Linked DNA regions of Homo sapiens: all the other regions are linked to region 3. The links are contacts of gene promoters, found by promoter capture Hi-C in blood cells and fetal thymus (Javierre and others, 2016). All regions are on one chromosome and are shown on one strand. The core of a region is centred on a gene start or on the middle of the fragment in contact, and the rest is flanking DNA. Distances in the headings are between cores, read along the strand shown.

Region 1 (4,404 bases), core at 554-3,053, 260 kb after region 3:
CTGGGCTCAAGCGATCCTCCTACCTCGGCCTCCCAAAGTGCTGGGAGTACGGGCATGAGCCACCAAGCCCAGCCAGAAACAATGTGTAATCTGAGTATCTAATGAACCACTCTAATTGACACATAATATTAATCATCACACTGCTGTTGGCCAGGCCCTGTGCTGGTCTCTGGAGATACAGCAGTGAAGAGGACAGGCACAGCCCTTGCCTTGAGAAGTAAACAGGCTAGCTCAGACAGATATGAAGCAAGTAGATGAGCATCGCTACTTAGAATGCAATGGGAAACACAGTCCCTTCTAGCTCCACCTGCCCATAGGAGAACCTCAGCAGCTGAGCTAGAGGCCCTACTTAATCCACAACTTGTAAATTCAAATGCTATCCAAACTGCTTTGGTAAGGCATTGTCTTTTTAAAAGAAAGCATGAAACACCTGACACTTATCAACTGCCAAGTCAAATGTTCTCCGCCTATCTCCAGACAAAAAACAGTTTTAAGACTTGCACATACCCTCACCTAACTGCTTTCCACTTATCTGAACTGAGCATTCTCTTCCTCACCTTTAGTTACACACTGTTCCCTTTGCCCAGGGCATCTATTCTACTCCTCCCACGTCTATCCTCTTTCCTTGACAAGTTCTGTGTCTCCCTCATGGCTCAGTGTGGGTATCACTTCTTCCATAAAGTCTTCCTTCCACCTTCGCCCAATCAGGGTTTTTGTTTGTCTGTTTTTCTGTTTTGTTTTGTTTTTTTCAGCCTCAACCTCCTGAGCTCAAGAGATCCTTCCGCCTCAGCCTCCCGAGTAGCTACGGCTACAGGTACACACCATTATGCCAGGCTAATTTATTTTATGTAGAGATGTGGTCTCACTATGGACTATGTTGCCCAAGCTGGTCTTCAGCTCCTGGCTTCAAGTGATCCTCCTACCTTAGCATCCCAAAGTGCTGAGATTACAGAGGTGATCCCCACTGCACCCAGCCCCACACAGACAGGTTTGTTTTCAAATGAGGCTGCAGGCCAGCGCAGTGACCCATGCCTGTAATCCCAACACTTTGGAAGACCTAGGCCAGAGTATGTCTGGAGCCCAGGAGTTGGAGAACAGCCTGGACAATATTATGAAACCCTATCTCTACAAACAAAACAAAAATCACCTGGACGTGGTGGCAGACCCATAGTGGCACACACTGGTAGGCCTAGCTACTCAAGGAGGCTGAAGCAGCAGGATTGCTTGAGCCCAGGAGTTCAAGACTGCAGTGAGTTAGGATTGTGCTATTGCACCCCAGCCTGGGCAACTGAGCCAGACTCTGTCCCTAAAAAAAATAAATAAATAAGCAAATGTGGGGCCGAGCGTGGTGGCTCACACCTGTAATCCCAGCACTTCGGGAGGCCGAGGCAGGTGGATCACTTGAGGTCAGGAATTCGAGACAAGCCTGGCCAACATGGTGAAGCCCGTCTCTACTAAAAATACAAAAAGTAGCCGGGCGTGGTGGTGGGTGCCCGTAGTCCCAGCTACTCGGGAGGCTGAGGCAGGAGAATCGTTGAACCCAGGAGGCAGAGGTAGCAGTGAGCCAAGATTGCGCCATTGCACTCCGGCCTGGGCAACAGAGCGAGACTCCATCTCTAAATAAATAAATAAATAAATAGGCAAGTGTGGCTCAAAGCACCCTGTACTCCCAATAGTATTACATCCCACTATACTATAACTGCCATTAAATTGTTCTCCCTTCCCATCAGCCTCTTCACCCATGTGTGATTAGCATGGTAACTGCCACATAGTAATTGGCCATTGACAAATAGCCACTCACTAGACAAACAAGCATCTGATTGCAAACCATTTCCACTTTTACACATAAATTGTTTCCATGATGTATCCATATATGGAGAACTAGGAAGACATAGGCTTTTGGGAAAGATAGTGAGACTCATCACCTGGAATATTCAATAGCTTCAGTAGCCAGTACCACTACTGCCAACTCAGTGTACAGACCATGCAATCTGTTGAGGGCCACTTGGCCACAAGCCTCCTATAAAGGTATTTCTGGAGCTGATGGAGCAGGAGAGTGGAAATGAGGCAGGATTGGTAAGGGGATGAATTAGTGATTTAGTGTTGACATCTGCACCAGTGACCCAGCCTGTCTTATCATTTGAGGGAAGTTTGTATCTGGGCCTAGGGAAAAAGAACAGAAGATAGAAGGCTCTAGTGAAAAAAAAGAAGGGTCTGCCTTTCCATTGGTGCTTGATGTTTATAAAGAAAAGTGGGGAATTGGCCGGGGGCGGTGGTTCACACCTGTAATCCCAGCACTTTGGGAGGCCGAGGTGGGCAGATCACCTGAGGTCAGGAGTTCAAGACTAGCCTGACCAGCATGGTGAAACCCCGTCTCTACTAAAAATACAAAAATTAGCCGGGCATAATAGTGGGCGCCTGTAATCCCAACTACTCGGGAGGCTGAGGCAGGAGAATTGCTTGAACCCTGGAAGCAGAGGTTGCAGTGAGCCAAGATCACACCACTGCACTCCAGTCTGGGTGACAGAGCGAGGCTCCGTCTCAAAAAAAAAAAAAAAAACAACAACAAAAAAGAAAAGTGGGGAATTAAGCTGCGGAATGGGAGTAGAAAGTCTCCATAAAAGTAGAGTTGCTTCTGAGCTGTTCCTCCAAGTGTTGGGATTTTGTCTCCAGAGCTAGAACAGGAAATCATATTGCAAGCCTTGACAATCTACATAAAATAATATGCTCTGAAAGCAAAAGCCAGAGAAGTGGAACTTTCTGTGCCAGGTGAGCTGTGGGCTGGGTCTTGGGAGATGGGTGAGAGGGTTGGTAATAGTTACAGTGAACTTCCATTTCCTTGGTCTTGTGTTTCTATGTGGAGAACTTCTGCTAAGAGTAAAACTGACTTCTTTCCTACTTCTCAATTTCTCTTTCTTCCTCTTGGAGAGTTTGGGAGAAGGCATCTCAACCCTTCCTGGACTTCTTCAAGTCAGCCTGTTCTAGTGGGCCCCATAAGCAAATGGAGGCTTCTCTGACAGCTTCTTTTCTCAAGTCTTGGTGACAAATATTTGTTTTTGCTTTGATTTGTTCCTTTCCAAAAAACTCTGAGTACAATGCAATCTTTTTAAATAGCGAATCACAGCTTGTTTTATGTGGCCAGATCTTACTGTTTGCTGTGAATTTTCAGAGATGCTACAGCCTTCTCAACAACAGATTATGAATCATTCCAAAGATTGACCTTCTAAAAACATTACCTGCAGATTCTGACAATGAATCTGTTTAGGATTTCCCCAGGAAAGAAAATAGAATGACTAGAGATTATGATGTTGCTTGTAGTTTAAATTTGGTGTTTGCCTTCTGCTTTCCCTGGTTCCTCTCGTACATGTTGTAAGATATAACATGTGGAAGAAAAGTGTAAGAAAAGCAAGAAATTCAGAATTTCATTATTCTGAAAGAAAGCCAAATTTATCTTTGCTTCTTTTTCGTAAACAAGGAGGTTTCACACCGGACGCATATAAAACACTTTGATGGAGCCCCATAGGGGAAAATAACCTTTCACGCATACTTCAACTGTTCCGTGGGTACTTTGAATGCAGGAAAACTACAACAGGCCCCGCTGGGATTCGAACCCAGGATCTCCTGTTTACTAGACAGGCGCTTTAACCAGCTAAGCCACGGAGCCACCATGCCTGCGGTGGTACAAATGAGCATAGAAAAGAGATGATCTTTGCCTTTGTTCTGTGCATTGATACACTTTCTTGTTACTGAGGTTTGAAAGTAGCTACACGCTTCTTCAGACACTGAAGATTAACCTTGGCTTCGCCCCAAAAGACCTAAGAAACCGCTCAGCTGCAGGATAACGAGGTTTTTCGCGTGGGGGAGGTGGGGGGTGAGGGAAAGGCTGGCGATAGCCTGACCCCCGCCCCGGGGCGAACAGGAGAGTCCTCCGAGAAACTGCCTCAAATAGCAAGCAGCTCATCCTAACGTGGATAAAGTATGACCTCGGGCTTCAGGGAGAAGAGGGTAGGAGAGCGGGTAGCCAGCCACATTTACAGAACACTCCTCCGAGTCGTGTAATGCATTTACACCAGAACACTTACGGCACCAAGAACTGATCTAGCAGGAAGGAAGCTATTTGTTTCTTATTTCATGGCTTTTAAATTAAACTGGAATTAGATTAAAATTCCAGTCATTCCTTACCCCATTTCTTTCCGTTAAAACTGGGCTCCACCTACCTGCTTCTTGCTTATTAAAGATTAACTAATGGGGTTCCAGAGTTGCTTCTTAAAAATGCAAGATTTAAGAATTAACAACTTAATCTTGGAAAGAGATAAAGAAGTCCCCTTCCCGGTATAGCTACACAGAAAGAAAAGCTTTCTTGTCCTAATACTTGTCCAAAGGATCTGATTTGATGTGTCAAAT
Region 2 (4,249 bases), core at 808-3,307, 260 kb before region 3:
TACAAGGTCACTAATGACTTCCTATTTCTAAATCCAGAGTGCCTTTTTAGTTATCTTCCTTGCCTTCTTGGCATCTCTAGATAACAATACTTGTCTCATTCTAACTTTTGTCTCTCCTTACAGCTCTTTCATTCATAATTCATTGTTATTCAGTTGGAGCCTTGATGGTGTTAGGGAGAAGCAGCATTCTGTAGTCAAAGTGTTAAGCCTCAGTTTATTAGCATGCCTATATCTTGGGGCTGGGACCGTCACAAGTGTTTATAATGATACAACTCCTCCTCCTCCTCCTTCTCCTCCTCCTCTTCCTCAAGTGTTTATAATGATACAACTCCTCCTCCTCCTTCTCCTCCTCCTCTTCCTCAAGTGTTTATAATGATACAACTCCTCCTCCTCCTCCTTCTCCTCCTCTTCCTCAAGTATTTATAATGATACAACTCCTCTTCCTCCTTCTCCTCCTCCTCAGACCTTTGCTCCTTTCCTGGCTGCACCATTTCCAATTTATTTTCATGAAGCTCTGATCCCTGTTGACTAATTTTCTTCCCTTAAGTGAGACAGAAAGCCTAGATGAGGCTGCAGTGGGAAGAATTACCTTCTCCCAGCTGGGATAAGACTCTGGCAAAATGTTTTCCCCTTGAGAGTAGGCCTTTGTTTTGAAGAAGGTTCTGGGGTGTATTTCATAATAATTCTTCTCTCCCTGCCAAAGCCACAAGAGGATCCTTCTCAGATCTTCACTGCAGGAACCTGGTGGGCTTTCTGATGCCCACAAAAGTGTGGGAGCTTCTCACTCTCATGGGCATTCACAGTTGGCCTCCAGCTTTTTGTCAGAGTTACCAATTTAAATGTTCTCAAATGTGATACTGTCTCAACTTCCAGGACATCACACACTCATGATTTTCTACTATCCTGACATTTGCAGTCTTTTTAGCAGATCTCCCTCCCTCTCCCTGCACCATGGGTATTGGTCATCTCAGGATCTGTCCCAGGCTTTCTACTCTTCATGCCCTTTGAGACAACACATGATCTGACCTGCCCTTTCAGGAAGAAATGTTCTGTCTACCTACTTGCTCCAGTTAAAAACCCTAGTGTCATCTTTGACCCTTCTCATCCCTACATCTAATCTGTTGATTCTACCTCCTAATTTTCTCTCAAACGCATCTATTTTTCTTCAATTTCAGTGCTACTCTCTTGCTCTAATTGTACATCATCTTTTTTAGAATTACTGTGACATTTTCTTGCCTCCAGTTCTGCCTCAGTCCATCCACTTCACAGCTAAATTTTGGATGTACACTTTTGAACTATTACTGTAGCAAAAGTAATATGTAATAACTGTAATGCAGAAATATAAAATATGCAATATAAAAGAAATACATGCATAAATGATCCCAACACTAAGGAAACAATATTGATCAATAATTAAATAATTGGTGGATAGTGAATGACAACATAGAGCAAAGTGTTCAGTAGGTTTTAAAAGCTGTGGGTTCAATAAATGCTCATGAAGCTTGTTCAGGGGCTTGCAAAATATGTAATTTGAATTTTTAAAGAAAAGGAATTTCAGATAAGAAAAAACATACATAACATGAAACAATACTTGTGGTGGTTTCAGGGAGGTCATGTTCTCACATTCAGGTGCCAAGGCCACCGTACATCCGGACACTGAGGCCACGGACTTGGTCTGCAACCTCCATGACAGCCTTGTAGATTTGAAACCGAACTCCAAGGAGCAGTTGTGCTGTGAGTTCCAGAGTTTGGGGACAGAGGAAACACCATTCTTTGGAAGTCTAACTTCCTTAAGAGGTGTCCCTTAGACATCTAGTGTCCGGTGTTATGGAGGTCCTTGTGCTCTGAGGAAGGAGCCCCTTGTTGATTGATGGAGCAAAATTTTTTTAAACAAGGAACTGTACCCGTATCTGGGCATGAAGCCAGAGAAATCCCTGAGGGCAGGGCCAAGGCTCTCAAAGATTTTCAGGGAGATTCCCAGCCTTTTTAAGTCTCGCCTATTCTTTTTTTTTTCTCTAACTGGCCATTTTGTATATATGGAGGTTATTGATTTTTTTGCTTTTATATCCTGATATTTTAATAACTGTTCATTTTTTAGTTATTTGAATTATCTACATTGATTATTTGAATGTTCTTTTTTTTGTTTTTTTGAGACGAAGTCTCGCTCTGTCGCCCAGGGTGGGGTGCAGTGACAGGAACTTGGCTCACTGCAACCTCTGCCTCCTGGGTTCAAGCGATTCTCCTGCCTCAGTCTCCTGATTAGCTGGGATTACAGGTGCCCGCCACCACACCCAGCTAATTTTTGTATTTTTACTAGAGATGAGGTTTCACCATGTTGGCCAGTCTGGTCTCAAACTCCTGACCTCAGGTGATCCACCCACATCGGCCTCCCAAAGTGCTGGTATTACAGACATGAGCTATTGCACTTGGGCTTTGAATTTTCTACGTATCTGACTTCTACGAAGAAAACTATAATGTATTACTCAGATAAATTAAACAGGAAAACTAAATAATGGAGGAGTATATTTACAGTTGAAGCGGTCAATATTTTAAAGGTATTAATTGTCCCCAAACTGATCTACAAAACCATTGTAATCCTAATCAGATTCCCAATAAGCTTTATTATAGAAATTGACAAACAGGGTTCAAATTTAATACACAAATCCAAGGGCCCAAAATAAACAAATCTGTTGCTTTATTAAATATCAAAACTGATAAAATGACAATAATCAGGGCAGTGTTGTCCAAAAATAGACAAACGAATGGAACAGGCTCAAACAAATATGGACATTGATTTACATCTAAAGTGGCACCATACAACAATGGTGAAAGGACTCTTGTAAATAAATGGCATGGGACAATTGTATAGCCTTTTAAACAGAAAAAGAACAAAAAGGAAAAAAAAAGAAACTTGACCCCCTACTTCACACTATACACAAAAAACAATTCCAGGGGAACTAACATGAAAAGCAAAATAAAGTTAAACATGAAAAGCAAAATAAAGTATATGGTAAAAAATTTATCTTACCCAAAAAGAGGTCTAGCCTTTGCCCTCAGCTACTGGGAGATGAATTTTAGACCCTTGAAATGTTCTCACTGATAAGTGTGTCTTTGTTTACCTGGAGGTTTTGACCACCACACAGTCAACAATGTGATTTATAATAGGAACTTTGAGCCACACAGTATCAGCTCTACCTGTGGAGGTAGACTAAAAGATCGGCCATGTGAGCAGTCAACCATGGCAGGCCATTAAAACTGCACACTGAGGCTCGGGTGAAATACAGTTCTCTTGTATACGGTTTCTACATGGTTTTAGTTCCTGTGGTCTACTGCAGTCCAAAAATAATAAACGGTAAATTTCAGAAATAAACATTCACCTAACTTTTATACAGTATATTCTTAACAATTATTCTAATTTATTGTTATTAATCTCTTACTGTGCCTAATTTATAAATTAAGCCTTATCATAGCTGTGTCTGTATAGGAAAAAACAGCTATATAGAGTTCAGTACTATCCATGGTTTCAGACATCCACTGGAGGTCCTGGAACATATGTTTTGTGCATAAGTGGGGACTGCTCTGTACGTCATGTGTATTGTCACACATTAATGCTGGGAAAGTAATACTGTTCATATTACTGGGAGAGGACAACTGGAAGCTCATATTTGGAACTTGCCTGGATTGTGCCTATATTAGTTTCCTAGGGCTGCTGTAACAAAGAGCTAGAAGCTAGGGTGGCTTAAAACAACAAATATATTCTCTTGTAGTTCTGGAAGCTAGAAATCTGACATGAAGGTATCATTAGATCTATGCTTCCACTGAAGCCTGTAGGAAAATCCTTCCTTGACTCTTCCTAGCTTCTCGTACTTGCTGGCAACCTTTGACATTCCTTGACCTGCAGCTGCATAACCTCAGTCTCTGCCTGTGTGTGTCTGTCTTCACGTGACCACCTTAGAAGAATACTAGTTCTATTAAAAAATATATATATACTACTTCTTCTAAGTCACCAGCCCATCATACTGTACTATAACCTCATCTTAACTAATTATATCTGCAACTATCCTATTTCCAAATAAGGCCACAATTCTGAGGTACTGGGAGTTGGGACTTTAAACATATCTTCTGGGGGCAAGGGAGATCTGCATACAATTCGATCCATAATACTGCCTTGTGTGTTTCTTTTCTCAGCTGATTTTAATCTTTATTCCTTGAGTTGTTTCCCCTTTTCAACTATTACAAACAATGAATT
Region 3 (4,746 bases), core at 1,754-4,253:
ATTGTCATTGCAACATTGTAACTGAGACAAAGAGATCTGACCTAACCAACTCCATCTTGCTTCTAACCTTCAAGCTGTCCTTGTTCACTCCTGGGTGTAGGCTGAACTACCTTTGGGAGGAACTTAGTTTATAGTTTAAAACTAATATGATAACAGCCCTTTCCCAAAACAAACCTCCTTGCCTGGGGACTAGACTGCCTTTGTAGGACTAACAAATTACTCACAAGATTAGAAATTATGGTTTAGGGGTAGGTCGTAATGGCTCACGCCTGTAATCCCAACATTTTGGGAGGCGAAAGCGGGTGGATCACTTGAGGTCCAGAGTTCGAGACCAGCCTGGCCAATATGAGGAAACCTCGTCTCTACTAAAACTACAAAAATTGGCTGGGCATGGTGGCGCGCGCCTGTAATCCCAGCTGCTTGGGAGGCTGAACAGGAGAATCGCTCGAACCTGGGAGGCAGAGTTTACAGTCTCCATCCTGGGCAACGCAGTGAGACTGTCTCAAAGAAAAAAAAAAACACACACATTATGGTTTAGGAGTCCTGCAGCTGGAACCTACAAGATTCTGACCCCACGTAAACTGCTCCTAAGATCAGTGCTTGAGATATTTTGCAGACCTGATGGATCAGTTGGCCCCACCCAGATTGGTAAACTGACTCATCCGATCTTGTGGCCTCCACCCAGAAACTGACTCAGCCCAAGGAGACACCTTCAGCTCCCTATAATGACATCTCTGACCTGACCAATCAGGACTCCTGGTTCATCGGCTTCCCCCCCATCTGGAATGCTGGGGAGACTGATTTGAGTAACAATAAAACTACGGTCTCCCGCACAGCTGGCTCGGCGTGAATTACTTTCTCTATTGCAATTCCCTGCCTAGATAAATCAGCTTTGTCTAGGCAGTGGGCAAGGTGAACCCATTAGGCAGTTTCATTATTTGCTTTACAAAAATCAATAGATAAAACACTTAGCCAATGTTGTTATTGAAGCTGGATGAGAGGAACATAGGTTTTATTAAACTATTATCTCCTTTCCCATATATTCTGGAATGTCAAATAAGTTTTTAAAATAAAAGCAATATGTGAAAAAAAATGACAAGTTGCTAAATTAATAAAGATCATAAAGAAGGATCTGCTGAATACCCAAACAGGGCCTTGTGCTAATCTGTAAAGGAAGGGTTCTATATGAAAACATATCTTGGTTGTATGCCAAGCAGCCCAGGATGGTATGTGTTCCTCCTTGTAACATCCCTAAAAACCTGATACTTCCAATCACTAAAAGGACCTCGGTGGTTCAAAAAAACAAAAAACAAAACAAAACAAAAAAGAAAAAACTTACATTAGTGTTGCCCTAAGAAATTCTTATAAAAGCCAGGTGTTGAAAGATAGTCAAGCAAGCCAGAAAGTCTTTAGAGACCAGTATATTCTCTCTGAAGGCAAACTACAAGGAAACTGATTCAATTAGAAAACTGCTAAGCCTAGAGTCAAACCAGAGCTAATAAGAGTATTAAAATTTATGTAGCAAGGAGTCTCAGCCCCAGCTGTTAGAAGCACCTGAATTTTAATAATTACCATTCCCTGGGCCCACTCTAGATTGCTATTAGTCTCATTGAACCCCAGGTAAAGATTTTTCTAAAGCCTTCCCATGTGACTGTAATGTTACATTGAGAAAACTGATCTGTAAAGAAATCAAACTATTTTAGGGGATTGTTCTGTGCACTTGCTTTAGAGAACATTTCATAGAATATTTCATTCTGTAACATAAATAAACATGCATTTTGCAAAAGCTCACTCCTTGTAAGAGTTCACAGGCAGGATGCCTTTACTGATGAGACCAAAACCAACAACCTAGGCTTCCTAAATCAGTGTTCATGAGAATCATCTGAGGTATATGCAGATTGACTCCAGCCCTAGATGGGGATTGAAACAAGCTCCCATGTAATGCCCTGGGAGCTTCTAACAAGTTCCCACGTAATGCCCATGCTGCCAGTAATGTAGAGGCCAATCTGGCTTTCGTTTCTGCCGCCAATTTCTAATATTGAATTAAAAAATGGATCATTTCACAGAAAAACCAAGAACTGTTTAAAAAAAGGGGGAATTGTGGAAATAGCTGCTTCAGACACGAAAAAGCAGCAACCAAGGATATCCCTACCTACTCTCAACTGCCAATGCTCATACCTGTAAAGTTTTAAAAGGGATTAACCAGAAATACACAACGAAAAAAAATCCCATCTATAATGGGTGTAAGTAGACAACGCGACTAACGCTTGAGACAATGTATATAAACGCCCCCAGGTGGCCCCTTCCACTACCAAATCGAAGCTCCAAACCCCTAAAAGCCAGTTTAGAAAAGGACGCTGACAATCTGGCACTTTCGGGAAAAAGCACGGGAACAAATATAGCAAGCTTACCATTAACTTTAGCCAATCAAATGAGGACTTAAGTACTAAAACCAATGTTTAGTTTCAAAGATTTGATTAGTTAATCACAGCTATTTTCGGGTGAAAGTAGGCGGCTCTTAAAAGAGCCTTTTTAAGTTGGATAGAATTACTGCCCGGAAACCTCTACGCTCTCTCCCCACGAATGCGGCGAGCGAGCTGAATGTCCTTGGGCATGATAGTCACTCGCTTAGCATGGATGGCACACAGGTTGGTATCCTCAAAGAGCCCCACCAAGTAGGCCTCGCAGGCCTCCTGCAGGGCCATCACCGCGGAACTCTGAAAGCGCAGATCTGTCTTGAAGTCCTGAGCGATTTCTCGCACCAGGCGTTGGAAAGGCAACTTGCGGATCAGCAGCTCAGTCGACTTCTGATAGCGGCGAATCTCGCGCAGAGCCACGGTGCCGGGACGGTAGCGATGAGGTTTCTTCACGCCGCCGGTGGCCGGCGCGCTTTTCCGAGCCGCCTTAGTGGCCAGCTGCTTGCGCGGCGCTTTGCCACCGGTGGACTTGCGTGCAGTCTGCTTGGTGCGGGCCATCTCAGACTACCTGAAAGAAAAACTCAGCCACTTGGCAGAGTGGAAACTGCCCTTATATATACTCAGAAACATTCTAATTGGCCTTGTTGATTTTCAAAAGACCCGCGCAACAAAACCATTGGCTGAAGAGTCCAACGATGTGATTGGTGAATTACTGGAAAATCTGATTGGATGAATCACTTCATTTTTGAATCCTCTCTTCTCGGTTAGTCTGCGATCCAAGAACGTTAACTTCTTAAAGTTCTAATTCTGCGCTTCTCAAGCTGTAGTCCGTAAACGACTACTTTAAGACTTGGAAGACGCTAATTCTCATTCAGTAGATGTGTTGTGGGGCCAGATTCGGAGGACCACGTTTTGAGAAGTTTATCTTGTGCCGTTTTCTTGAGTCACCTGGACTGCTGCTAGCTGGAAACCTTTGACCATTATAAGGCAGGATTCCTGGGTGATGTACCTGGGAAATCACGAGCCAAGAAGTCACCGACATACAACAGTGAGCAACAAATGTTAACTGAATTCTATTTTGTCCCAAATGGTGTTTTGCTTCGGTTGAGAATTTTTAAGGCACAGGCTAATTTTAGGTTTTCCAACGACTCTTATCATTTACTTTTCGTTGGGTCCTATTGATGATATTCCAGGATACCACCCCCACTAGCCTCTTCTGCAGGATAACTTGAACACTGCAGTGGCCCTGTCCATCTAAACTTTACAAGGTTTTGTAAACGTTACTGAACTTGCTTCTTCCCGACTACATTAAAGCACTTACTTGAGATATTAAACATTTTCTCATTAGTCCTGTTTGCCTAGTCAGTCACTTGTATAGACAGGGCAACAGCACGGCCTGAATATTGGGCAGGACACCGCCCTGCGCGATAGTAACTTTGCCCAACAGCTTGTTGAGCTTCTCGTCGTGGATGGCGAGCTGCAGGCGTCGGGGGGTGACGCGGGTCTTCTTGTCTCGGGCCGCGTTGCCCGCCAACTCCAGGATCTTGGCGGTCAGGTACTCCAGCACCGCCTCCAGGTACACCGGCGCACCGGCCCGGACCCGCTTGGCGTAGTTGCCCTTGCGGAGGAGGCGGTGCACTCGGCCCACAGAAAACTGGAGACCAGCCCTGGAAGAGTGCGTTTTAGCCTTGGCGCGAGCTTTGCTGCCCTGCATTCCACATCCAGACGCAGTGAAGTATTTAAATACTTGTTTAGAAGAAGGAAAGTGATTGATTCTAGTAAAACGCAAGAGCTAAACTCTTATAATCTATATTCGGCAAAGTAGACTGTGCTATCTCCTGAACACAGATTTCAGCCAATCGAAAAGCAGGTGTTTAAAAAAATTTAAAAAAAAAAAAAAAAAAAAAACCACTTCTGACTTACATACTTATAGTTGAAAGGTCAAATTATGCAAGGTTGAGCTTCTGGGAGAGCCGATGAGATTTAGGAGTTCAGAAATGGCCTATCATATATTCAGACACTAAAAGAACCAATGAGAAACCGAAACTCAGCCAGCCTCATTTGCATATACACGAGGTAAATAATGAGGGCGTTTGGGCTCACCAGCATTTTCCTGTGGTCATTTGACGGTATCACTTCGGCTGCGAACATGCCTGAACCAGCTAAGTCAGCTCCCGCCCCGAAGAAGGGCTCCAAGAAGGCGGTGACCAAGGCACAGAAGAAGGATGGCAAGAAGCGCAAGCGCAGCCGCAAGGAGAGCTATTCCGTGTACGTGTACAAGGTGCTGAAGCAGGTCCACCCCGACACCGGCATCTCGTCCAAGGCTATG

What was found. Contacts are between HindIII fragments. The CHiCAGO score rates a contact against its expected background, and 5 or more counts as called.
Region 1: a fragment that was not itself captured here is called in contact with the fragment with the promoter of H3C8 in region 3 in 15 of 17 cell types (erythroblasts, M2 macrophages, fetal thymus and 12 more); the score reaches 13.9 in erythroblasts.
Region 2: a fragment that was not itself captured here is called in contact with the fragment with the promoter of H3C8 in region 3 in 1 of 17 cell types (neutrophils); the score reaches 5.1 in neutrophils.

Annotation. Positions count from the first base shown.
Region 1 is chr6:26,529,327-26,533,730 of GRCh38, forward strand. TRT-AGT2-1 (tRNA-Thr (anticodon AGT) 2-1) reads right to left here and starts at 3,664; the gene lies at 3,591-3,664. RefSeq lists a cis regulatory region at 3,378-4,131 and a silencer at 3,547-3,636. The HindIII fragment of the contact is 5,099 bases long and covers 1-4,353 here.
Region 2 is chr6:26,006,742-26,010,990 of GRCh38, forward strand. No RefSeq gene overlaps it. Among named protein-coding and RNA genes, the nearest start is that of H1-1, 8.9 kb to the right of the region's middle. The HindIII fragment of the contact is 1,116 bases long and covers 1,500-2,615 here.
Region 3 is chr6:26,268,410-26,273,155 of GRCh38, forward strand. H3C8 (H3 clustered histone 8) reads right to left here and starts at 3,004. Exons shown (of 1, transcript NM_003534.3): 1 at 2,509-3,004. The coding sequence starts at 2,975. The coding sequence ends at 2,565. It overlaps H2BC10 (H2B clustered histone 10), which reads left to right and starts at 4,522. Exons shown (of 1, transcript NM_003525.3): 1 at 4,522-4,746. The coding sequence starts at 4,567. It also overlaps the pseudogene H2AC10P. RefSeq lists enhancers at 536-1,132, 1,906-2,045, 3,773-4,112, 4,443-4,746. The HindIII fragment of the contact is 12,049 bases long and covers 2,405-4,746 here.